Linked DNA regions of Homo sapiens: regions 1, 2, 3, 5, 6 and 7 are each linked to region 4. The links are contacts of gene promoters, found by promoter capture Hi-C in blood cells and fetal thymus (Javierre and others, 2016). All regions are on one chromosome and are shown on one strand. Each heading gives the region's core, a stretch centred on a gene start or on the middle of the fragment in contact. The rest is flanking DNA. Distances are from core to core; before and after follow the strand shown. Region 1 overlaps LOC107987065 (a long non-coding RNA gene). Region 2 overlaps LOC107987065 (a long non-coding RNA gene). Region 3 has its middle 110 kb from the start of ALDH1B1. Region 4 holds the start of FRMPD1 (FERM and PDZ domain containing 1). Region 5 overlaps LOC105376041 (a long non-coding RNA gene). Region 6 has its middle 86 kb from the start of ALDH1B1. Region 7 overlaps PAX5 (paired box 5).

Region 1 (3,256 bases), core at 373-2,872, 720 kb after region 4:
TTAGGAGATAAGTACTGTTGATATCCCCATTTCACAGATATAAGAACTGAGGCACAGAGAGGTTAAGTTAACCTTGGCATGCCCAAGGTTATACATCTAGTTAGAGAGGCAGGGTCAGGATTCAGTTCCAGCTCTGTCTGACACCAGAACCTCAGAAGAGTCTCCACCCAGGAGGACCTCAGTGCAGAAACAGAGAGGCAGGGTGGGCACGGTGAGACCCAGATAGGGTTGCCAGCCTGACAGATTTGAGGAGAAAGAAAAGGACTGGGAAATTGGGAGGGGATGGGAGAATCCCTTTCTCATCAAGGCAGCTGCAAAGGGAGGAACTGGTGGGGACTAGAGGCAGTGGGGGGCACAGGGAGTGGCAGGGAGGCAGTGCCAGGGGAAAAGGGGGGTCCTTTTGAGAATGTCTGGGACCTCACAGGTACAGAAAGAAGCCTGAGCTAGAGTTAGGGGCTTCAGCCTCTAGCTATGCCTGAAGGGTGCTGTGACCTGGGCAGATTCCTTTCTGTTCCTGGGTCTCAGTTTCCTCCTTCGTACCATGGAGGGTGAGTCCAGGAACTCTTCCAGGCCCTCCTTTGGGTCTCCAGCCTATAACTGAGGGCCCAGCCCAGAGCAGATGCCTGAAAATTGCTTACAGAATAGTGGCGTGAGCAGCTGAATGGAGGGGGGTCAGTGGTGGGGCAAGGGCTGGCTTAATGGAGTCACGCCCTTGGATGTGATGCTGATTAGTATCCTGATTATTGTCTACTTACAGCCCTGCTTCTCTTCACTGGCTGATGTGCAGACATTTATTAGTAAATCTTCACGGCGGTCTAGGGAGGTAAGTAGGGAGGGGGAAGCCTGTTTTACAAGCTTTGGGGGCGAGTATTGGGTGGGAGTGGAGGAATCAAAAAGACTTGAACCATTTGCTGGAGCCAATTTTGAGCTCTCCAGCAAAAAGAGATGCTGGAAACGCTCTTGTCTAATTCTCAGCTGCTCTGCCATTTGAATTCTCTCCACTCGAGAGATTGAAAACAGGCAGCTACAGATAAAATCTGTATTTTATTTGGCCTGCAAAGGGTGTTTAAAAATTTGTGGTTAATATTTAAATACAGGGAAATTTGGAGCATCCAACTCATCCACAGATATCAGGGTATAAATGGATACATCCCCTTTGAAAAGCTGATTGACATTTTCTACTATAAGCAGAACACATGCGTGCCTGGTGACCCAGCAATTCCACTCCTAGGTATGCACCCAACAGAAATGCGTACACACAGCCATCAAAAGACGTTCAAAAATGTTTATGGCAGCATGATTTGTAACAGACTGAAACTGGAAACATCCTAAATGGCCAGCAACAGGAGTGGATGAATTAATTGTGGTATAGTCACACTAAGGATTCTGTACAGTAACAAGGATGAAAATTAGCCAGGCATGGCTAATTTTATTAACTGTATAGTTAGTTATTAATTAGTAGTTATTAGTGATTATGAACTATAGTTGTTGACTATATAGTTATAGTTATTAACTATAGTTGCAGATGATGTCAATGACTTGTGGACAGATAGCATCTACAGTGTGGAATGCTGAACAAAGGAATCATTCCTATATTATTCACTGTATAGTTAATAATAGCCATGCTGTACATTAGGTCTCCAGAACTTTTTCATCTGCAAGTTTGTACCTTTCGGCCAACATTGCCCCATTTCCCCTACCCCTCACCGCTGGTATAACCACCCTTCTAGTTTCTGTTTCTGTGAGTTCACCTTTTTAAGATTCCACATATGAGTGAGATCATGCAGTATTGATCTGTCTTTCTGTGTGATGGCTAGATGGATAAAGCAACTTTGGTACAACAGTGCCCCCTTATCCACGTTTTCACTTTTTACAGTTTCAGTTACCCTGCAGTCAACCATAGTATGAAAGTATTAAATAGAAAATTCCAAAAATAAACAATTCATAAGTTTTAAACTGCGTGATGAAATCTTGTACTGTCCTGCTCTGTCCCACCTGGGATGTGAATCATCCCTTTGTTCAGCATTCCACATTGGAGATGCTACCTGCCCAGTTGTCATCAACATCGTCTGCTCTTGACATCCAACCACTAACATACTTATGGCTCAGTGATGCAGAATCCACCAAAGCAGATGAAGTGGGCTTGTATATTAAACACGCAATGGGCTGCTCTTTACATTCACAAATAAGAATCATCTCCCTGACTTATTTCACTTAGCATAATGTGCCCCAGGTCCACACGTGCTGTCACAAACGGCAGGAGTGCCCTCTTTTTAAAGGCTGAATAATATTCTGTTGTTTATATCTATAGTAGTCCCCCTTATCCTCCCCATTGTTCTTTTTCAAAAAAATTCGATAAATTATGATAGCTTTAAAATATATTTAACATCAAGCTTTAAAAAGAAATTTGCCTGTCAGAGCCAATGATCTGAGAATTACTATAAACACGTTATTTACTATAAAATTACATGCTAATTACTATAAACATGTAATCATCAGATTACAAAATAATCCCGATTTAGGAACAGGTAGGATGAAAGTGTTAATACATTCCAAGACCCCTAGTGGATGCCTGAAACCTCAATAGTACCGAACTCAACATAGCTTATGGTTTTCCCTATATGTAAATACCTAAAATAAAGTTTAATTTATAAATTAGGCACAGTAAAAGATTAACAACAATAGCTAGTAATAAAATAGAACAATTTTAACAATATACAGTAATCAAAGTTATGTGAATGTGGCCTCTCTTCTCTCTCTCTCAAAATATATTCCTGGCCTTTGAACACATTTCCGTTTACAACCTCCATCCTACAGTGTCCTTGCCAATGGTTTATCTGGCTTCTGTTTGCACATGCTGGTGACAGGGGGCTCATTCTCTCCCCAAGTGGTGCCTTCCATCATGGGACCATTTTGCTAGTTAGAAAGTGCTTTCTGAAGCTGACTTGAAATGTAACAGACTCACAGACTCTCACAAAGAGATGGGAACTTGGAGGTTTCCCAGCCCAGAAGTCCTTATCCTTTTCACCCTCAGAGACCTTTTCCTTACCCACCCCCTTGGGCTTGTTGCTGGAATATATTTTGTCTGCCTCTTAAGTTGCATTTATTACTCACTCACCTGAGAGAATGTATTTCCAAGTGACAGCATCCTCTGGAATATTTCAACTACAAAAGGCCTTTGACTGAGCGCTGTTCATCGAGTCCAGCCCCGGCTTTGCAAATAAACAGCTGACACCAAGAGAGGAGAAGCAACACG
Region 2 (3,654 bases), core at 603-3,102, 700 kb after region 4:
GGGCTGTCAGCTGCCATGTGTTAGAAGCTGAGCTGACCCTCTTGGCTACAGGTGATGGCACCAGAAGTAAGCACCTGACCCAAGATGAGCCCGTTAGAGCCCATTCTTCAGTTCTTTGGTAATTTAGAATTGGGACGCCGGAGACAGCCACCCTGTGGATGGCTGGACTTGTCACATAGAAACATGACACTTGGGGTGTCCATGTTCTACCACGTACAGGGAGGAACAGGGGATGTTCATTCAAAGACAGGAGATCGGAGTCCCTCTGCAGAGGGAAGCAGACAAGAGCTGAAGAGGGTGCCTTGCTTTCCTATTGGCTTTCCACTTCCTGTTTCTAGTCCTTCTGGAGATGTGGCCCAATTTAGCCCCTGGATTTCATGAGATTCCTTGTAACAAATCTCCTCACTGCCACTCCCTGTCCTCCAGCTAGCTGAGAAAGATTTCTATTATTTACAGTGCGGACTTTGAGCCATGGCCTGCCTAAGCCCTGGGTGCCCTGGGGAGGTTTGTGTGCTACCCTTCCAGGGTTCAGCACAGGGAGGGTATGCAAAGGGTCCTTTTTAATCTTGGACTTTGACCCCACTCCTGTCCTGTATCCTGTCAGTCTGTAAAATGCAGGAGTGGGCCTGTCAGCTGCCCTGAGAGCCCTCTCAGCTCTGCGGCTCTCTGCAATCAGTCCCACGCATGGTGCACACAGTGGGAACTTGCTGACTGCTCATAGCATGGGGTGGAGGCTGTCCTGAGAATTGTGCCAGAGGATGGTCTGAGGACAGTGGGCAAACCCCAAACACTGTCATGTCTAGAGGAAAGGAGACTGAGAAGAGCCCAAGTCAGCTCCCCTAGGCAACCAGGAAACAATTTGCAAGATGGAATTCAACAAGCAATGCCAACAAGATCATAATGACCATATTTATGGGAGAACGTGGAGGCCCGCGTGCGGGTTTTCATTATCATGTGTATAAATGTGATGGCTCTGTGCAGCCAGCCTCCCGCTCCAGGCGGCAGCTGTTGGCTGGTGCATGGTAATTTGATGTAAATTGTCCCCAAATATGGTAGTTCCCTCCTCTGCCAGGGGAGTTTGAAGTCACAAACCTGGAGATGTTGGCAGCAGATGTTTTCTTACTCCTCCGCAGGCTGCTGGTATTGTGGAAAAGGATAACAAACCCAGAGACAATGCTTACCTGCACCACCTCTGGTGTGCCTGCTGTGAGACCTGCAGCACACGCGCCACCCCTCTGAGCCTGTTTCCACATCTGTAACATAGGCACAATGTCCTGTCAGGGTTACTTTGAGGAGTAGAAGAGATATACCCAGAGCATCCAGTACAGTGCTTTTATTAATATTCTTCTTTGGGACCTCGGTGGTGCCAGTTGTAGGAGCTGGGCAGTCAGTGCCCAAGCTTGTCTTCTAGTCCTAAATGGTGGGCTCCCCCAGGCAGAAAACAGGAAGAGCAACATGATTAAAATAAAAGTGAAAGTTCTAGGGAGAAACCTTAGTCTAAGGACAGACTAAGGTTTAATTCAAGAGCTCACTGGAATTTGTAAGCAAAACATCAATACCCCAATATGTAAATGAGCAAAGGGTTCAAACAGACAATTCACACCGGAGAAAGACAAATAACAATCCAACACAAAGAAAAATGTCTTTCCCCCCTCTTTTGCTTTACTTTTCTTTAATCCTCGGTGCAAGATATCAAATTAAAACAACCTCGAGATGGCTTTATTCCCACAAAATAAAAAAATATGTATATTAAAATGAGTTTCTAGCTGAAGTGATACACTCCGCTGGGGAGGTAAAACTTATCCTGTAGCAGACATTTTGCAAGGCGATCTAATAATATGTACCAAAAGTCAAATCAAGATAAATGATCCAGGCATCTCACTAATGTGAATTTCTCCTGAGGAGATTATTCAACAGGAGGAAAACGCCAAATCAACAAAGATGCCGTGAAAACATTTGAAAAGCGAGGTATGCATGCGTCAGTGGAAGATGGGGAAGCCATCCATGAGGTTCCACACAGAATACCCTGAAGTGCTTAAAAGGGTAGTTGTGTTTTGAGGATTAGGCATAGCATGTGGAACAATGTTTACAATGTATTTTTAATTTAAAAAAGGAGCACAAAAGGCTATTTATAGCATGATGGAAACTATACACATGTGACTGTATGACGCAAATGGTGCCTCCTTGCAAAGGATGAGACATTGAGAGGGGTGCGCTGTCCAGCACAGAGGGAGACCCCCGGGAGGCATGAGATCTCTGTCTCTCAGTCCCAAAGGTCATCTCAGAGCAGCAGCAGCAGCAGCAGACAAGCTTTGAGAGGTCCCAGAAAGCAGGCCTAGCACATGAGATGGAACTCTTTTGGGGGGCAGGTGGCAGCTCAGCTCAGGGAAGAGCCTTCTTGTGGTCAGTGACATGGGCTGGCCCCTGAGGTAGTGAGCTTTCAGGGGCTGGAGGTGTGCAAGCAAAGGCTGGAGTAGAGCTGGGCAGCTGGAATGATGTCACCTAGGATGGTTAAATGATATTAATCACATGTCTACTCATACCAGCCCATCTAGCCAAATATCCCTGTATTAGGCCATTCTTGCATTGCTATAAAGAAATACATGAGACAGGGTATTTTATAAAGAAAAGAGGTTTCATTGGCTCACAGTTCTTCAGGCTTTACAGGATGCAGGATGCTGGCATCTGCTCAGCTTCAGGGAAGGCCTCAGGAAACTTACAATCATGGCAGAAGGCACAGGGGGAGCAGGCACGTCACACAGTGGGAGGAGAAGCCAGCAAGAGACAGGGTAGAGGTGCCACACGCTTTTAAATGAACAGATATCTCAGGAGAACTCACTCACTATCGCGAGAACAGCACCAAGGGGACGGTGCTAGGCCTGCTTTTTGGGCCCCTCAAAGCTTGTCTGCTGCTGCTGCTGCTGCTGCTGCTGCTGCTGCTGCTGCTGCTGCTCTGAGATGACCTTTGGGACTGAAGGACAGAAAAGCCATCACAAAAAATCCAACTTAATGACCCAATCACCTCCCACCAGGCTCACCTCCAACATTAGGTATGAAAATTCAACATGAGATTTGGTGGGGACACAGATCCAAACCATAGCAATCCCTAAAAGGGAAACAGAGTAAGCCCATTCATTCATGGAACACAGGGAAGAAAGAGGGAGAGGAAGAAGGAAGGGGAGGGAGGGAGGGAATGAGGGAGAGAGCAAAGGAGAAAAGAGAGGAAGAGATGGAGGGAGGGAGGGGGAGAAGGAGGGAGGAAGAGAAGGCAAGGCCTGTCACATGCTAAGCAGGTATCTAATCCCTTTGTAAACACTGTCAGAAATTTATCTTCCTAATTGAAAAGCCCATGCGGGCTGGTTAATCCAGTCCATGTTAATGAGACCAAAACACATTAAAGTAGATATTGACTCCAGTCGTCAGAGAGCCAGGATTGAGGACACCAGGGGGAATATATTGACAAAAGTGAGGCTGGGGTCAGCCTTGGCCCCACGGACATTATCCTGCTGCTCCCTTGCTCAAACCACCCCACAAAGAGACCCAGTCATCCACCCAGGGCCTGCAGGATTTTCATTTCTTATGGGGAGAAAGTGCTACTTCCATGATGGAAGCCATTGGCCCCCTTAAATGGAAGAAAGTGGCCTTAAAAATAAA
Region 3 (3,162 bases), core at 220-2,719, 630 kb after region 4:
AAAGCCACTGCATACAATGATAATTGTCTAGTGGCTTGAGGGTTTGGTAATCAGTGGCTGGTATTTTCAGCTTGTAGCAGGCAATCAGGTGTTATTGATTAGTTCAATAGGTTCTGGACTTTGTTTTATTTCACTATCTACTGCTTGATTTATTAATCCAACTGTTATTGACTTCTGATCCCATGGCACATCCCTTCTCCTGGCTCCAAACATAAGGTGTTTGCAAGCACCTATTTTGTAGCTGAAGCACGGGCCTTAATGTTAGTTGGTCTCAGTTTTCCCTCCTGTGAAATGAGCTGGGGAGTTGGCGGCATGAGTTCAGAGGATCTGGGTGCTGGTGACTGTTCTGAGGGGGCTTATGAACTAGTCTTGCCTTGTGGCTGGTGGGGGCAGAGGCTGAGCAGAGGGCAGAGGGCAGGCAAGGAAGCACTAGGGACCAAACACCAGCTCTGCCACAAGAACAGCGCAAGCCACGCGCCGAGTGCATACAGAAGGAGCAGAGCTTCATTCTAACGCGGCGGCGAGGTGCCTGAGTTCCCTGTGATCTCCATCAGCCCCACGAAGCCACCCCAAATAAACGCACAATCTAAGCAAACCCAGTGAGTGAGTTGTGCAAACACAGCTTCCAGACAAGTCTCCCAGGACCAAGCTTCCTGCTCTTTTCAATATGGCACTGACCTTAAGCCCTCCTGTGGAAATTCTGGAGTTGCCGCTACTGAGGGATCCTGCCACGGCTTCTGGGAAGAGGGGGCGTAACACAGAGGCCTCAGGAGGAGAGCAGAGGTCTTCCAGGCAGAAGGAGCAGCTTGAGCAAAGGCATGGGGGCCTGAGAAAGTGGTACACACTCTGAGGGGCAGTGAGAAGACCACTGCACTGGCACATGAGGCATAGGAAGGAGGGTGGATAAGGCTGAAGGCAGAGCAGAGAAAGAACTGTAAGTGCCCTACATTTATCTTCTAAGCCATTTTTTTGCTCTACTTCCTTAGCAGCCAAATGCTTTTAAAAAATGATGGCTTACATCAATCCTTTATTATAAAACAGATCATAATGGCTAACAGCCATTGACGACTTTCTCTATGCCTTACATGGATGGATTCCCTAAATTCTCACAATCTCCCTAGTCCACAGTCAGTATAGCCAGGCACGTGGTGTGGTGTCACACCACTGTGTGCTCAAGCACTTACCACACAGAGCAGAAGTGGGGCTGGGGGCTGGCACCTCTGGCTCAGACATCCCTTCCCCCAACAGGGGGGCATCAGGCTCTTCCTTGTGACTTGGTGGCTCCAGGGAGAAGGGGTTCAGACTGGCGTTCTGATCTGCCCGGGGATTTTGAAGGAAAGAACTTGGTCACTGTGTGGAGAGAGAGGGATGGGAGAGGGAGGGAGAGCACAAGGGTCCCACTGAAACAGAAGAGGGCTGCGCAAGGCAGAGGCAGGTGCCAGTGTTGGGGCAGAGTCCCAAAGGCCTTTTTACAGCCCATTTTGTTCCAAGCCCTGGCCTGGAGGTCAGGGATCCAGCCTCTAAGTCCAATCCTGCCGCTGACTCTCTCTGTGGCCTTGAAAAAGACCCCATCCCTCTCTGGGGTCTGTTTCCCGATTGTACCATGACTGGGTTGGACTAGGTCAGCAGTTTCCAATCATTTCATAAGTAATATTCAAACACATTTATAGGTAGAAATCCATTACATAAAACTGACAAGAGTGACATTATTATAAATTTATGTTTCAGTTCAAATTTATAAGCACTACTGATTATAAAGTCAACCAATGAGAATAATGAGACTATTTCAATAACCCAAATAATTTGAAGTTGGACATTATAAATAATAGTTGCAATTCAGTGTCAGCATCAATATCCAATTTATTTCAGTATTTTGATTTGGTTTTTCTACATTATTAAAATCCTGATCCACCCTGAAAAGTAGTGGCAAATGGTAACATATTTTCAAAGCACTTTACCTTACTATCTCAGAATATTCACCAATTAAATGGATCCAGAAACTTCAAGAGGAACAATAGGCAATTATTTTGTTTCAAGGTTGAATTATTAACAATACCTAAGTCTTGCTCTTATTTTTTAAATGGTGAGTATTACATTGGGAGGGAGATGATGAGTAGGTTTCTTACTTTAAATGTTCATTGTTTGGCAGAAAAAATACTTTTCAAATGTAGCTGGAAGGATGTTTAGGGTTGTCATTTGAGGAAATCTCATGCCTCAGTGCCTGTGTCTGACAGCTCTTCACTGAAACTTTCTGAACAGTCAAATTTGTTCTGTTTTGCCTGTTAAGTCTAAGCTTCAGGATTCAATTTTATCCTAAATGCATTATCTAGTATTGTAAACAGGGTAACAGTGTGACCTTACATTGCTAAACGGAGTCCATTTAAGTGAACAAAAGTCAGACTAGTGGAGCCTAGCACTTACAGTAAGCACTGAAGGGTTCTTCCAGTATGATAACATCAAGACTTAGGGCATTGCCCCCAGTCCTTGGTTTTGGCCCAGCCCTTCTGTGGTGTCGAGCAGGTCTCTAGCTGTGCTGGAAAGTTAAGTGAGTGCAGCATGCAAGTCACCTTGCAGTGGGCTCACATGGACAGTGTGATGTGCAAGTTCATGTCCAGGCCTGAATTACCCAAGGGAAGCAGCGTAAGCCTCCTTCCCAGGCAATGGCGCGTCCACTCAGAATCCACATGGAGGCCCCAGGCAGGGCCGGAGAAGCTCTGTCTTGAGATCCACGCAGAATTGCATCAGCACATCAGCACGAGTGCGCAGGTTGGCAGGGGCCCCCTGGACTAGCATTTGGGAGCCTGCACAGCATTTTTGTTTCAAGATTTAAAATAAAGAATATCTATTTAGGCAATGCTTGGTGAAGTTACTAAAGGCCTTCTTTGGATCCCTGGGGGCTCCAAACATCCCAGTTTGGAAATGGAAAGCCTGGGCAGACATCGGAGGGCTGTGCATGCCTCCATGGGCATCAGCCTTGACAATGAGGGAGTCTATTTTATCCTCCCATCCCCCAGCCCTGGATGTTTCCAGGAGTAGAAAACCAAGCCCTCCCCAGCCCCGCACCCCCAGCCTGTGGGATTCCCTTCTACAAAAGTCATTACTGCCTCTCTTGGTCGTCTGCCAGCTCTAAAGTGTCTTTTTAATTGCATCTAATTTGGCCTC
Region 4 (3,346 bases), core at 226-2,725:
CACTGACAGAAAAGGGAGCTTTGGGTGCAATTACGTAGGAGGTCTTTCAGCGATGGAGCCACTCAGGAGTTTCTGGATGGACTCCTGGATTTGGAAATGAAGGTCACAAAGGAGGAGCACCTGCCTTCATCCAGACGATGTTGGCTCCAAAGTGCTGCTAGTCTTCCCCCACCGCCCTTGGATGAAGGATGCACTTGTTAACATCTGCCTGTGCACCATCCCCAGAATGATCTAACATCCCAGTCTGATGGTGCCTCAACCCTACTCAGAACTCCTCCCATGAACCTGCCAGTGCACTGGGAACACGGTGCAAACTCCTTGACCAGGAATTGGCCCCTGCTGACTCCCCTGCTTTATGTCTCAACTCCTGCCACTCCCTCTGTGGGATCTCTCTCATCTTGGGGTCTTTGTTCCTGTGGTCTCAACCTGAAAGGCTCTCTCCACACTCCTCCCTTTCACTGGCCAATTCCACTGGCCTTTCAGGTTTCCATTTAGAGCATGCCCTCTCCAGGAGGCCTTCACTCAGTCAGTGCAGGCCTGAGTGGTGCCCTTGGCCCCGTGGGATTGGGTTATTGTTACAGGAACTGGACTGTATTTTAATAGTCCTAGACTGTACATTCCATGAGGACAGGGACTGCTTTATTAAAGGTGTATTGTATCTCCAGTGTCTAATGCAGGATATGGACCTCGTAGGTGTTCAGTAGAGTTCAGCACGGAAAATAGTGCACAGACACATGCATTTGGGTATCATGCTCAGAGAGGCGGTAGGACCAGAACCAGGGGAGTGGGTGAGACGGCTCAGGGGGTCAGAAAAGGGCTGAGTGCAGAGTCCCAGGGCGCTCCGGCATTTTAGAGCTTCTGGTTTGAGGAACCCTCAAGGAGACCGAGGGAGTGGCTGGAGAGGGCCGAGGAAAGCTAGGAGAACACAGTTTCCCAGCGCGGAAGGAGTTTACAGAGACAGGGGAGGTGGTCCACAGTGCCTACCGTGGGCCCACGCTCTCCCTCTCCCTTCAGCCGAACACCTGCGGGGCGTGGGGGTCAGGGGGCGAGTCCCCCAGGGCTCCCCGTAGCTGGGGCTCTTCCTGGGGAAAAGGAGGCGTGAGAAGGGGGTCGTTTTGGGAACTCTTCTGGGTTCCAGTTCTGGCCCAACCACCGCTGGTCCGGGTGACCTTGGGGAGTCCCTTTCCTCTCCCAGCCTCAGTCTCCCCCCTGGGTACTCAGCGGACGCTGCGTGCCCCGGCGGTGAGCTGAGGCAGGCGGCGGAGGCAGGGCCCGGGTGGGAGCGGGACCGCCCACTGCGGCGGGCCGGGACCTCGGAGCCAGCGGAGGCGGCGCGCGGGGCTCCTCCCCCGGGGCGGGGGTCGCGGCGCCGGCAGCTGGCGGCCGCGCAGCTGCAGCCTCAGCACCTGCCGCCGCCAGACGGCGCGGGCGCGGCCCGGCCCGGCCAACCCCTCCGGCTGCAGCCTCGGCGCGGGAGGCGGAGCCCGAGCCGAGCCCGAGCAGCGCTGCTTCCCGAGCCTTGGCCGCGACCGTGCCCGCCGCTGGGCGGGGCCGCCCTTCTCCGAGAGCGTCAGCCCGCTAGGTCCTTGTCCGCGCGGGCGGCACCTCCTCTGCAGGTAAGGGAGGGGTCCTGGCACCGCAAAGTTTTGGGGAGACGGCCTGTCCCCACACCCCGGGCCTGCGCCTCGGCTTCCTCCGCGCCGCCCTCCGCCTGCACCACCAGTCCCGGGTGACCCGCGCCCGCCTCCGGTCCTCGTGTCCCCAAGCCCGGCTCGGGGGCGCGTCCGTGGGCTAGCTCAGGACCTGCCATCGTGAACTGTTTGCACAGTAGCGATGTGTGCTTAAGTTTCCGAGATCTGCATGGTGTAGTGAGTGGAAACAGCGGCAACGCGGGAGGGGGAGAGACCTGGGTTCAGGTGCGGCCGCGGCCAGCGCCAACTTTCTGAGTGACCTCAGACCAACCCTCTCTGTCCGTCCTCGATGGCCACACCTGAACCAGAAGGGGTTCGCCAGGGACGATCAGCTGCAGTGCCAATGCCTGTGTTGTCATTTTTTGAGTAGAGGGGCATCCCTGAGTGTCTCAGCTCCAGAACTCATTGCGTGTGGAGAGGAATGAGCCACAGAAGTCAGTCTCCAGGGTCGCGTCGCTAACTTGCAGCAGCTTTGACTGAGCTTTAGTGGGGGCGTTGAGTCAGCCTCGGGAAGCAGGGGATGCCCCTAGGGTTAGGAGTCAGGACTCTGGCTTCTGGTGGCTCCTCTGCCATACACCCACTGTCTGTGTGACCTTGGGCAAGTGCCCCCTGCTTTTGCCACCTATAAAATAGGGTGGAAGTCGTGTTCACTAGTTGTTCGCTGTCTCTTTCAGCTGTAAACTCTGGAGAAGCGGAACCTCCGGATCTCTGCATTTAGTCAGTTTGGGTGGAGGCAATATTTCACCAAGAATCCATCTAGCACTTGCAAATGAACGTTTAGAAAATAAAGGAGGCATTTGCAGTTTGCTTTGGAAGTCCCAAAATAGACATGGGGAGGATTGGTGAACGCTCAGTTCGCCTTCTTCAGTGCTTTGGACCGTCATGAAATATTCAACGACATAATGATTTGTTTTCAAAGTGGCTTATAGATCAGGAAGCGTTTCTGTTTGTGAGTCGGTTATTTTTGTAAAAACCTCAGAATGGTTGTTTGGGAAAAAAAAATAATGCACTGTTCTAGGGGTCCTGACCTAGAGGCCAGCATCTACTTGTTTCTAGTCTAAGATGATGGTTGAGATGATTTCCAATCAAGACAATTTCGGGCATCCTTTGGTCGGTGTTGAGTATGGGTACGGTTAAGGAGCCAAGTTCATCTTTTCCAGGACTGGTGCATTCTGGCACAGTCACAGCAAAACAAGCACGAGGTAGTTAACTGTGATATGCTAGAAAGTGAAATTTATTCTTTTGCCCAATATCTTGTTCCCCTTGTGCTGCAATTAGTGGCTCCCCAGTGTGTGGGTGAAACGCATTACCACGAAAGGATTCTCACAGAAGTGATTTTATGATTTTATTTCCTTCCTCGACATCCTGGTTTTAAGTTTCTAGCATTATGAAATCAGAGAGCTGGTGAGGGTGTGCTTGGTGACCAGAGCAGAGTTGTGGTACCTAAGTTTGTCTTTCCTGAATGAGACCCCATCCTTGAAGCTAATTTGTCCAGAGCCTTTTATCTCTCTGACGCATTCAAATGCCACCAGTCTTTTCCCTCTTCATTCTCTATTGGTTCATCAAGCACTTTCTCACTACTCATTCGAGAGGACACAAACATGAAAATTACCAACAGGCCCTACCCTCAAGGAGCTTAGGTTCTGTTGGGGAAT
Region 5 (3,600 bases), core at 1,013-3,512, 800 kb after region 4:
TTCAGCACTCAAGCTTTGTAACATGTCTGCTTTTATTTTTTGTTCAGCCTGAAATGCCATATTCATTAAATCCCAAATTCTGCTCACTCATAAAGCAGGATTTTCACTCTGGGTTAATCCACAAAGTAGCTTTACAACTCCTGATTTTAAAATTGACTCTTTCCTTGGAGAAAATTCAAGAAGATTATATACCATGGAAGATGCTGCTACTAGGATTTCATCTGGTGCATTTTGTAAAACCTTCATTAAAGGTTTTCACAGAGTGTGATCCTAGAAACTGTTTTGAAGCTGCTGCACAGATCTGGATAAATGGTGCAAACATCTGAGAGCAGGTAACCGCACCTTGACACTAGACTCAGACAAGCCAGTCACAATTCAGTCCATCATATTTTCAGTCTCAGGGCTTTTCTTCTGAATGTCTTCATCATTTGCTCTAAGAGAGTCGTAGAGATTGAATGCAGCCTGGCAGAGTTCATGAGCATGTTTTAAATCATGATCAAGCCTTTTACTATCAGTGATGGCACTCAATGAGTTGGGATACTTGAAATAGTCAGCAAACATGGCGATGAGGTGATCAGTTACACTAGCGATTCTCTGTAGCTCAATATCTGGTTCAATCAGATAGGCAAGTGTCTCAGCTCCTTTAACTCTCTCCTCTAGTAATCTCTTCTTACTGCATGTTTGAACCAAATAAGGCAATGTCTTTAATACAGTTGTTATCTGTCTGAATTGCTCCAGCTGTATACATGTAAGTTAAACATTTTGCTGATGTAAGCTGCATCTCAATATGCTTATCCCTCTGTAACATCGTCACAAAAATCTGTGATAACAATTCTCCATCAACTAAAACATTTACCAGGGTAAAACTGAGAAACATTTCAGTGCTTGCATTTGAACTTTGTAGAAAATGAGGTTAGTAGGTGAGCAATATTCTTAACTGCACCACGGCTAAATAAAATTGTTTGATGATCTGGCCCCTTTACAGCAGTGTGAGACGATCCGACCGATGTACTCCTGGATATAGTGGAACCTGCTAAGCAGTGCCATGAGGTGCGGTGTCACTGTGGCATCTGTAAACAGTAGCTCCTTTGGAGTGACAGGACTGGAGAATTCCAGTAACTTTCATTCATGGTCTGAGAGGAAGCTCATGCAGATTGGGGTCTCCAACAGGCACACCATCTTGAGCCTTCCCGTTTGGCTGCTCTCATTCTTTTTTATTCTCATTTTCTTTTATTTTTTATTCTCATTTTCTTTTCTGACTAGGTTATTTCAAAAGACCTGTCTTAAAGTTTCAGAATTCTTTTTCCTCCTTCCTCTTATCCTCCTTTTCCTCCTCTTCCTCCTTCTCCTGTGGTCTGTTGCCAGCCCCATTCTGCTTCCACTTCTTGTACTATGGGTATTGAGCACATCCTGAGTGCTCTTACAGTCTGGGGCCATGATGGCTGATGCCTTTACTCTGATCTAGTCCCAGTTGCTCTCTATCTTTCAGGGTCTTCTGGTAATTTCCATGTCCCTGATAGAGCCCCTTCTTGCTTTCTAGTATGGTTATGCATTCTCTCTCTCTCTCTTTCTCTTTCTTTCTCCTCCCTTCCTTCCCTTTCTTCCTTCCTTTTTTTCTTCCTTCCTTCCTTTCTTCCTTTCTTTCTTTCTTTCTTTTTTCTTTCTCTTTCTTTCTTTCCTTCCTTCCTTCTCTTTCTTTCTCTCTCTCTTTCTTTCTTTCTTTCTTTCCTTCCTTCCTTCTTTCTTTCTTATCATTTTGAGGGTTTTGTATGGGATGAGGAGACTGGTATATATACTCTGTTTACCTCCCTAAAAGCAGAAGTCTGACTTTTACAGTTCTATCACATATCTGACAGTTTGGGTCTCATCCACCCCCTCCCCACCACTTATCAGATATTTCAGATCCATGGTTAGACATAACTGTGGAGCACTGGCATTTTAAAGACTTACTGGGGAATATGCCAAGCTTATGGAATCCCCAGAGGAGTCCTCTTCTCTGAGACGTCTGAGGGAACAGTAGGTGCTGTCTAGGGAAAAAAGGTCAGCAGATGGCCGGCTGGCTGGTGGATGGTGTAGGAGTTGGGAAAAGCATGAACAAAAATGTGGACATATATGATAGAGTGTGTTGTGGTGGCCTTGTGGGGATCAGAGCAGAAAGAACAAAGTGTGGTGGGAGTCCCAGAAAGGAGGCATCTCTTTGAAGAGAAGCCGTAACACTACTGCCATGTGTTTTAGACATGAGACAATGACAGTCCTGTTCCACAGATAGTGGGGGCTGGAGAGAACAGAGTCTGCAGCCTGTAGTCCAGTAATCTCTCTCCTGCCCCAACAGCCCAGCAGTGGCTCAGGTGTGAGCTGATGTTTCTTGACCTTGACCAGTGCTAATTTCTTGTGAAGGATGCTTTAGTCTCAGGGCCCCTCACTCACACAGGACCCTTCCAAGGCTCTGGGAGAGTGGGAAGAACCCTGATTAGGTGTTTACATGGTCATATGTCTCCCTTAAAATATGAAAAAGTAAGACATTTTGTAGTATTGCTTTAAAAACATGCCCAAATTATATAAGCTTTTAGCCCCACAGAACTGGATTCTGCCCCTAAATGAAGGACTTAGTTTCAGTTAGCAGAGAAGTTGGATAAATAATCAAGCTGAAGAAAAAAGTATGAAAGATTATTCCACTTAGGGAAGACACACTACAGGTGAGCAGCCTTGGCTCTCAGAAAGTGAAATTTAAAAAGATCAGATGGTCTTAGCGGATGGTCTTAGGCCAAACTTCTTGACAGTGATGTTCAAGACTAAAGTGTGAATGACAACAGCAATGACTGATGATATGAATGTGATGTTTTTGGCCATTTTGCAGGACCAGGCAGTTAAATGGCACTTGTACCAGCTCGGTGGACATGGAGCTCTTCCTTCATTATTCCCTCATCCCATCAGTAAGTAAAGGCAGGGGAAGGGTGAGGAGGGCAGGAAAGGGCAGCTGGGCTGCTGCCAAACACAGATTCCCAAAGAGACCTGAGTAGATCAGAGGAAAGAGATCAGCTGAGTTTCCTTCTAAAATGTCTTACATTATATACCAAAAATATGGCAGAAGAAGGCTTTGTGGGCCCGAGAATCAGGCATATGGACTTTTAGGAGAGTGAAACAGGCTTTTCCAATGAAGTAATGATGGCTCTGAGGTCAGTTGGAAGATGTAGTTAAGGATATTGCAGACAGAAGGGGAGAGCACATGCAGAGGCTCTGGGGAGGGAGGGAGAAGGCAGAGTGGGAAGAGCTGAGAAGTTCAGCCATGGCTGGAGTGAGGAATTGAGGCAGAGAGGTCTGGGGAGGTGGGCGGGGCAGGCCAGGCAGAGCCCTTTGGGGCTCTGTGTTTAGTTTTGCCTTCATTCTAAGTACAGTAGGAAATAATGGAAGTGTTTCCAGCATGAAGATGGTGTGATCAGATTTATGTTTTTAAATGATCTCTCTGGTTGCAATGCGGAGATCGAGTTGGAGGTGGGCAAGAGATGAGGCAGGAAGACCAACTGGGAGACTTGCAGGGATCCAGGTGAGACGTGATTTTATCACATCCTAGATGATGATGTCAACTCCAGAAGTTCAGGA
Region 6 (3,455 bases), core at 195-2,694, 660 kb after region 4:
ATTTCTTAAATAACAAGAATTGAAATTCAAAATTACTCCTTGATCCATGAGCTGCAGAATGGATGTTGGGTTAGGCATGAAAACAACATTCATTTTCTTGTATATCTCCATCAGAGCTCTTGGGTGACCAGGTGCAGAGTCAAGGAGCAGTAATATTTTGAAAGGAATCTTTTCTTGAGGAGTAGGTCTCAACTGTGAACTTAAAATAGTAAACCATGCTGTAAACAGATATGTTGTTATCTAGGCCTTGTTCTTCCATCTAAAGAGCACAGACAGAATAGATTCAGCATGATTCTCAAGGGCCCTAGGATTTTCAGAATGGCAAATGAGCAGTGGCTTCAACTTAAAGTAACCAGCTGTATTAGCCTCTAATGAAAGAGTCAGCTTGTCCTCTGAAGCTTTGAAGCCAGGCATTGACTTCTCCTCTGTGGCTATGAAAGTGTTAGATGGGATCTTCTTCCAGTATAAGGCTGTTTCATCTGCACTGAAAATCTGTTGTATAGCATTGCCACCTTCATCAATGATCTTAGTTAGACCTTCTGGATAACTCTCTGCAGCTTCCATGTCAGCACCTGCTGTTTCAACTTGCATTTTTATGTTATGGAGATCACTTCTTTCACTCAACTTTATGTGCCAACTTCTGCTAGCTTACAATTTTTCTTCTGTAATTTTCTCCCCTTTCTCAGCCTTCACAGAGTTGAAGAGAGTTAAGGCCTTGTCCTGGGTTAGGCTTTGGCTTAAGGAAATCTTGTGGCTGGTTTGATCTTCTATCCAGACCACTCAAGTGTTCTCCTTATCAGCAATAAGGCTCTTTTACTCCTTATTATTCATGTGTTCACTGGAGTAGCACTTCTCATTTCCCTTCAAGAACTTTTCCTTTGCATTCACAACCTGGCTGTTGGCACAAGAGCTCTAGCTTTTGACTGATGTCAGCTTTCGACATGCCTTCCTCACTAAGCTTGATCATTGCTAGCTTTTGATTTCAAAAGAGAGATGTTCATTCAATTCTTCCTTTCACTTGAACATTTAGAGGTCATTATAGGGTTATTAATTGACCTAACTTCAATATGGTTGTGTCTCAGGGAATAGGGAGGCCTGAAGAGAGGGAGAGAGAGAGGGTGAGTGGAGCAGTCAAAACAGTCACACACAGTCAACACACAAAATTCATCAATTAAGTTTGCCATCTTATATAGGTGCAGTTTGTGGTGTCCCAAAACAATTACAATAAAAACATCAAAAATCACTAATCACAGATCACAATTACAGATATATTAATAATGAAAATATTTGAAATTTTGCTAGAAATGCCATCATGTACCATGGAGACACAAAGTGAGCACATGTTGCTTGAAAAATAGTGCCAATAGACTCGCTAGACACAGGGTTGCCACAAACCTTCAGTTTGTTTTTTTTTAAAAAGCAATATTTGTGAAGTGCAATAAAGTGAAGCATAATGAAATGACATATGTCTGTAGTAACACGTGGAGGACAGAGGAGGGGCCAGAAAAGACTGAGAAGTGACATCCAGCAAGGTGGGGAGCTACTGGAGAGCATGTCTTCCTGGAGGTCAAGGGAAGAAAGTCTTTAGAAAAGGGAATGTTTAGTGGTGTCGAATATGGTTGAGAAGTCATGGAAGATGATGCAAAATTTACCATGATCCTTTGAGGTGTGAAAGTTAAAGTGAGGTCATTGCAGGACAGTTCTCTGGGTCGCCTTGGACCAACGCAATTCCTTCCTCTTTTTGCTTGTAATTCTCAAGCATAACTGTAGAATGTGCTGGGAATGCAATATCCTGAGATAGAGAGGAGGCCAGGAGCAGCCTGGGCCTTGTTCCTATCCCTCCTAGGGAATGTAATATCTTGAGTTAGGGAGGAACTGCCTGGGACAGTCCGGGCTCTGTTCCTCTCTCCCCTGGAAGCAGGATGTCCATCAAAGCTTTGCCCAGTGAGTCCTGTTGCCCCTGAGGTCTATAACCCAGAGTGGGCTGCCTTTCGGGGTCTCTCAGGTTTTATGCAAAGTGGGAAACGTGCAGGCAAGACCCTATCTACCCCATGCAGTTATCTTGAGCCTTGGGGTACCAGCTTACAATGAATCCTAGGTTTCTCTTGTCCCTTGCTGCCTACCTGTAAGTAATAAACTTGTTGCACGTGAGTGTGTTCTGTTTCACCGGACTCGGGTGTTGGTAACACTGCAGTCCAAGATGCAGTGGGAGGAGTGCTTGGACTCCTGTTCCTGGTGGTTGGTGCAGTGATGGTCTCTGCTGCCCTCCATGCAGTGGGAGGCCTCCCTTGGGGCTAATTGTTAGTGAACCTGCCTCCCAGTCATCTCCTTCCCAGTGTTTAGTGTTGCCAGGCTTTCCCCGCAATCTGGCAGGTGCGAATGGCCTGTTATTGTTGTTTTAAACTCCCCTGAGATTTATACAGCTATTTTCCTTGAGATCCTGGGCAGGGATTAAGTAGGAAGATGGTATTTAGGGGCTGAAGGTGGACACTGAAGGTGCCCTCACTGATCTTGACTCTAGGTTTGTCCAGGGTCAGATGGTGGAGGAGGTATGCAGGAGCCTCCTATCTGCTTTAAGTAATTCTGTGTTTCAGGAGGTGAACACCAGAAGGTATTTCAATCTTCTTCACCTGTCTTATCATTAGTGGAGTGTCCTCTCAGATTTAAGCAGAAAGTTTTCTGTCCACCTGAGTCATCTGTATGCCTGCAAGCAATGCTGTGGCTTCATGGTTCCATTAGTGAAAATTTGTAGTTGGGGTGGAGGAGGGTACTATCAATTGCCATTTAAAACTGGAAATGTCATTTAGAAATATTTGAATTTTTTAAAATGTCCAAACCACACCTATCACCTTTGTGTACCTGTTCTTTGTGTTTTAAATATGCATCTCATAGACACACTCCTGCTTACTTAAGTCCTGAGGGTTTTCAACTTTCATTTCAACCTTCACGTGATGGTTAATTGTATGTGTCAGCTTGGCTGGGCCAGATAGTTGGTTCTACATTATTCTGGGTGTTTCTGTAAGGTCAGGGGTGGGGTTTGGATGAGATGAACATTTAACTTAGTAAAATGAGTAAAGCAGATTGTCCTCCATAATGGGCTGGACTTCATCCCATCAGTTGAAGGCTAGAATCAAAGGCCTGAAACAAAGGCTGATCCAAGTAAGAGAAAAGTCTCCTGCCTAAGGGCCTTCAAAATAGGACAGGACATTGGCTTTGCAGATTTTAGACCTGCTAGTCTCCATAATTCCATGAGAAAATTTCTCACAATAACTCAGTCTGTCTTTCTCTCTCTCTCTCATTAGATAGATATATGATAGATTAGATAGATAGATAGATAGATAGATAGATAGATAGATAGATGATAGATAGATCGATAGATCGATAGATGATAGATATAGATTAGATATTTCTCCTTGTTTCTGTTTCTCTGGGGAACCCTGACAAATACAATGGGG
Region 7 (3,325 bases), core at 396-2,895, 750 kb before region 4:
GGCCCTCCCTCATCTCCAGCTGCTTTCTTCACTCATCCTTTATCATGCTGTTCCTTCTGCCTGGAATGCTCTTCCCTCACCTGTTTCCCCAGCCTGGTTAATTCCTGCTCATTTCCGTGTGCTCAAGTGTCACCTCCCTCAGGAAGCCCTCCCACCCAGCCTCGGGAAGTGGCCCCCGTTGTGCACCTGTGACATCTGTCACATGCCTCTCCTTATCATTTCACCTTTTAAAAACATTTACTGAGCACTTTTGATGAGCCAAGAGCCTAGCTTAGAAACCCACGTGCATGATTTCATTTAACCCTAGAACAACCCTCAGAACAACCCAATGAGGAGAGTGTTAGCCTCACTTCCAGGTGAGGAAATGGCGTATCAGAAAATGTAAGTGTCCTTCCCAGGGTCAGCCGCTAAAAGGTAGGGGGGTCTGGGATTGGAGCCCAGCGCTGTCCGACCCCACGCCCTAAACACCTAATGGTGATGCTCTGTTGCTTCACCCCAGGGAGCTCCTGTCACCAGCCCAGGTGGCATAACCCTGGCCAAGGAACATCGCCTTGCTGAGCCTCAGCTTCCTCTTCTGTAAAACGAGGGTCAAGTCTTTCCCTGCTGCCCTCCCAAGATGGTAGGAGGATCTGAAAAATAACAGATGTAAAATCACTTAGTAAACTGTAGAGAGTGGTGCACATGCAAAGAAGGCATTAGCATACTTTCAGGGCTTGTCTCACCAAACAATTTCCTTGCTCACATTAGAATGAAAGGCCTTCTATCTGCTGCTTCTTTTAGAGTAAGGGTGAGGGAGGGCTCCCATCCCCTCCCTAGACCAGGGTGTCCCTGTGATTTTTAAATTCACTATCTAGCTGTCCCTATCCCCCCTCCCAAAACACAATTGTGATAGTCAAGCAAAGAAAGGTGAGAGAAAGAAGAAAATCCATAAAGGCTCGGCAAAGCGGTGGCGGTGGAATTCTCCAGCTCCTGACCACCAGTTAGTGACGTCAGGATTTATAACTGTATTAAATGGTCTGACAGGCAGCCTTGATATATCAGTTCCCCCTTCTTCCCAAATCACAGACAATAAAAGCTTTGGCAGTGAAAGTCATTCATCATCATAAAGACCTGAGACATCCCAGTCATCAATTTCACTCACATCCTTAATACACTGGAGAGAGTGCAGGAGTTGAGCACCTCAAAAAGGGAGGAGGAAGAAAACACGAAGGAAGATTGAACAGGAATAATTACAAAGGTCAAAGAAGGGATTCATCCGGGAGGGTGCCGTGGGCAGAGCCTGTCCCTGCTGGAAGTGTGCTCAGGCCACAGAGAAACTAGGCCACTGATGGGCCCAGCCCTTAGAGAGGCCCTGAAGCCCAGGTGGAGAGGGGCCAAAATAGGCTGCAGGATCCGAGTGGGGAGTGTTGGGGGCATGGGAAGCCACACCCTGGCTCCATGGCCTTAGGCTGGGTTTCACCAGGGCCTTTTATTCCATCAGCCTCATTAGCACAAGACGGATTTTAAAATAATGAAGCCACAGGTATCTGTTTGAAATCTACCCCCACCCACACTGGCACAGACGGCTATTTGTGCCAACCATGGTTTTCTTTTGGGCAACACCTTTTGAGCAACTATAACATTCGGGGCTGATATTAGTGGTTGTGAAAGACCCCATAAGGCTGCCAATCCAGCTAGAAAAGAGTAGCTGCCCAGAGCCCTAAGTGCAGCCTCTGGCTTCACCCCTCCCCTTCCCCCAAATCCAGTCACCTGGATCACACCTGCTGGCCTGCCCCGGGACCTGGGCCGAGGTTCCCCACCCCTCACCACCAGCACTTGGCATCCTTCCTCCTCTCAGGCAGGCCGGGCAATGGAGGATAAGAAAGCAGGAACTCCATGGGGTGCAGGTGTGAAGAACTGGGGACTTCACGACTTGTTCCTGAAGAGAACCAGACCTAAGTGGCATGATCCTTACCCTGGCACTTGGCCTTCTCTCTCCCAGACCAAGGAAGGAGGAAGAAAGTCTGTTTAAGAAAAGCAGTTGGCTGGGAAGGGTGGCTCACATATGTGGTCCCGGCTACTCAGGAGGCTGAGGTGGGAGCATCACTTGAGCCCAGGAATTTGAGACCAACCTGGGCAACAGAGTGAGACCCCATCTCTAAAATATTTGTTTTTAAGTAATGACAATTATCTTTCTTATGCTTTTATTTTTTGCTTGAAAGCAAAAGAACAGAAGAAAGCTTTGGTCTAGGTGGGGAGTTTCTTGAAGCACAGGGCTCCCCACAATGGACAACACACAGCCTGAGGGCTGGGAGGCTGCACAGCAGGGGCTGAGAGCCCTGAGGCTGCTGGGGCATGTCCAGGTGGCCTGGCCCAGGCAGGAACATGAAAGAATACACAGCATGTTTCCCAAGAAAGAAGGAGCAATCATACCTGCTGTGTCTGCCCATCCACTCACCAAACCTTCACCCAGGACCTGCTAAGGCCTGGTCAGGCTGCATGAGGTCTGTCTGAGCAGGAGGCTGACCTAAGGGGATGCCAGCTTTTCAGGGGTGAGTCAACCCACTACCCTTCAATCAGATATCACCCAAGAAGCCCCATCAGTCCCGGCCCCTACACGTGGCCTGAAATCCACCTATCAGCTCTGTTCTTCAGATAGGGGTCTGTCCAACTCAGACTTCCTCTGGCACACTTCCAGGCTGCCATGACTCACCAGGCTTTATGAGAATAGTGTGGCTTAGAGGTCAAGTGTGTGGTCTGTGGAGTCTGACTGCCGGCATTTAAAACCTGGCTACACCACTTACAAGCTGTGTGACCTTGAGCAAGTTTCTATGCTTCTCTGTGCCTCAGTTACTGCACCAGTGAAATGAGGATGAGAAGAGTGACTCCCACAAAGGGTTGTTATGCAGATTAGACAAGCTATTAATAAGTCAAGGGCTTAGAACAATGCATGGTGCAGAGGGAGTGGATGGGAGCATCAGCTATCACTCCTGCTGGTGACTCTTGGCTCATGGGACCCTAGCTTGGGCCTGCCTCTCTAGCTGTTCAGGATTGAAACCAACTCTGGGGGAAGAGCTCCCTAGTCCCCTATCCTACACACCAGCCCCCTAAATAGGCTGCTGGGCCACACTATCCTTAACATGGGCATGTGACCCCATCTTGAACCTGGGTTCACAGAGGCATACGAAAGGAACTAATGGGTCTGAAAAGGCAAACACTTCTCTGGATGGGTTCATCCAGACAGGCAGCAGGTGCCCCTAAGCATTCATGCCAGAAACAACCTTACTAAACATTTATAGATGATCTCAGGGTGGGAGTAGAAGTTCTATGGCCTCACAGATAATGA

The links. Contacts are between HindIII fragments. The CHiCAGO score rates a contact against its expected background, and 5 or more counts as called.
Region 1: a contact is called between a fragment that was not itself captured here and the fragment with the promoter of FRMPD1 in region 4, in 2 of 17 cell types (endothelial precursors and M2 macrophages). The highest score is 7.6, in endothelial precursors.
Region 2: a fragment that was not itself captured here is called in contact with the fragment with the promoter of FRMPD1 in region 4 in 3 of 17 cell types (endothelial precursors, erythroblasts and M2 macrophages); the score reaches 5.9 in endothelial precursors.
Region 3: a contact is called between a fragment that was not itself captured here and the fragment with the promoter of FRMPD1 in region 4, in 1 of 17 cell types (M0 macrophages). The highest score is 5.2, in M0 macrophages.
Region 5: a fragment that was not itself captured here is called in contact with the fragment with the promoter of FRMPD1 in region 4 in 1 of 17 cell types (endothelial precursors); the score reaches 6.2 in endothelial precursors.
Region 6: a contact is called between a fragment that was not itself captured here and the fragment with the promoter of FRMPD1 in region 4, in 1 of 17 cell types (endothelial precursors). The highest score is 5.7, in endothelial precursors.
Region 7: a fragment that was not itself captured here is called in contact with the fragment with the promoter of FRMPD1 in region 4 in 1 of 17 cell types (naive B cells); the score reaches 5.1 in naive B cells.

What each region holds. Positions count from the first base shown.
Region 1 is chr9:38,372,155-38,375,410 of GRCh38, forward strand. It overlaps LOC107987065 (a long non-coding RNA gene), which reads left to right. Exons shown (of 3, transcript XR_001746670.2): 2 at 758-823. It overlaps LOC105376040 (a long non-coding RNA gene), which reads right to left. Exons shown (of 4, transcript XR_929605.1): 2 at 3,119-3,256. Among named protein-coding and RNA genes, the nearest start is that of ALDH1B1, 19 kb to the right of the region's middle. The HindIII fragment of the contact is 1,538 bases long and covers 854-2,391 here.
Region 2 is chr9:38,351,962-38,355,615 of GRCh38, forward strand. The region is part of intron 1 of LOC107987065 (a long non-coding RNA gene); the gene reads left to right. LOC105376040 (a long non-coding RNA gene) reads right to left here. Exons shown (of 4, transcript XR_929605.1): 4 at 2,932-2,971. Among named protein-coding and RNA genes, the nearest start is that of ALDH1B1, 39 kb to the right of the region's middle. The HindIII fragment of the contact is 911 bases long and covers 1,398-2,308 here.
Region 3 is chr9:38,281,629-38,284,790 of GRCh38, forward strand. No RefSeq gene overlaps it. Among named protein-coding and RNA genes, the nearest start is that of ALDH1B1, 110 kb to the right of the region's middle. The HindIII fragment of the contact is 1,644 bases long and covers 648-2,291 here.
Region 4 is chr9:37,649,479-37,652,824 of GRCh38, forward strand. It overlaps FRMPD1 (FERM and PDZ domain containing 1), which reads left to right and starts at 1,476. Exons shown (of 16, transcript NM_014907.3): 1 at 1,476-1,616. RefSeq lists a silencer at 1,348-1,617. The HindIII fragment of the contact is 4,272 bases long and covers 1-3,346 here.
Region 5 is chr9:38,453,261-38,456,860 of GRCh38, forward strand. It overlaps LOC105376041 (a long non-coding RNA gene), which reads left to right. Exons shown (of 8, transcript XR_007061487.1): 5 at 2,858-2,933. It also overlaps the pseudogene ARMC8P1. Among named protein-coding and RNA genes, the nearest start is that of IGFBPL1, 31 kb to the left of the region's middle. The HindIII fragment of the contact is 597 bases long and covers 1,965-2,561 here.
Region 6 is chr9:38,304,978-38,308,432 of GRCh38, forward strand. No RefSeq gene overlaps it. Among named protein-coding and RNA genes, the nearest start is that of ALDH1B1, 86 kb to the right of the region's middle. The HindIII fragment of the contact is 977 bases long and covers 957-1,933 here.
Region 7 is chr9:36,901,226-36,904,550 of GRCh38, forward strand. All of the region lies in intron 7 of PAX5 (paired box 5), which reads right to left. Among named protein-coding and RNA genes, the nearest start is that of MIR4476, 9.4 kb to the left of the region's middle. The HindIII fragment of the contact is 1,144 bases long and covers 1,074-2,217 here.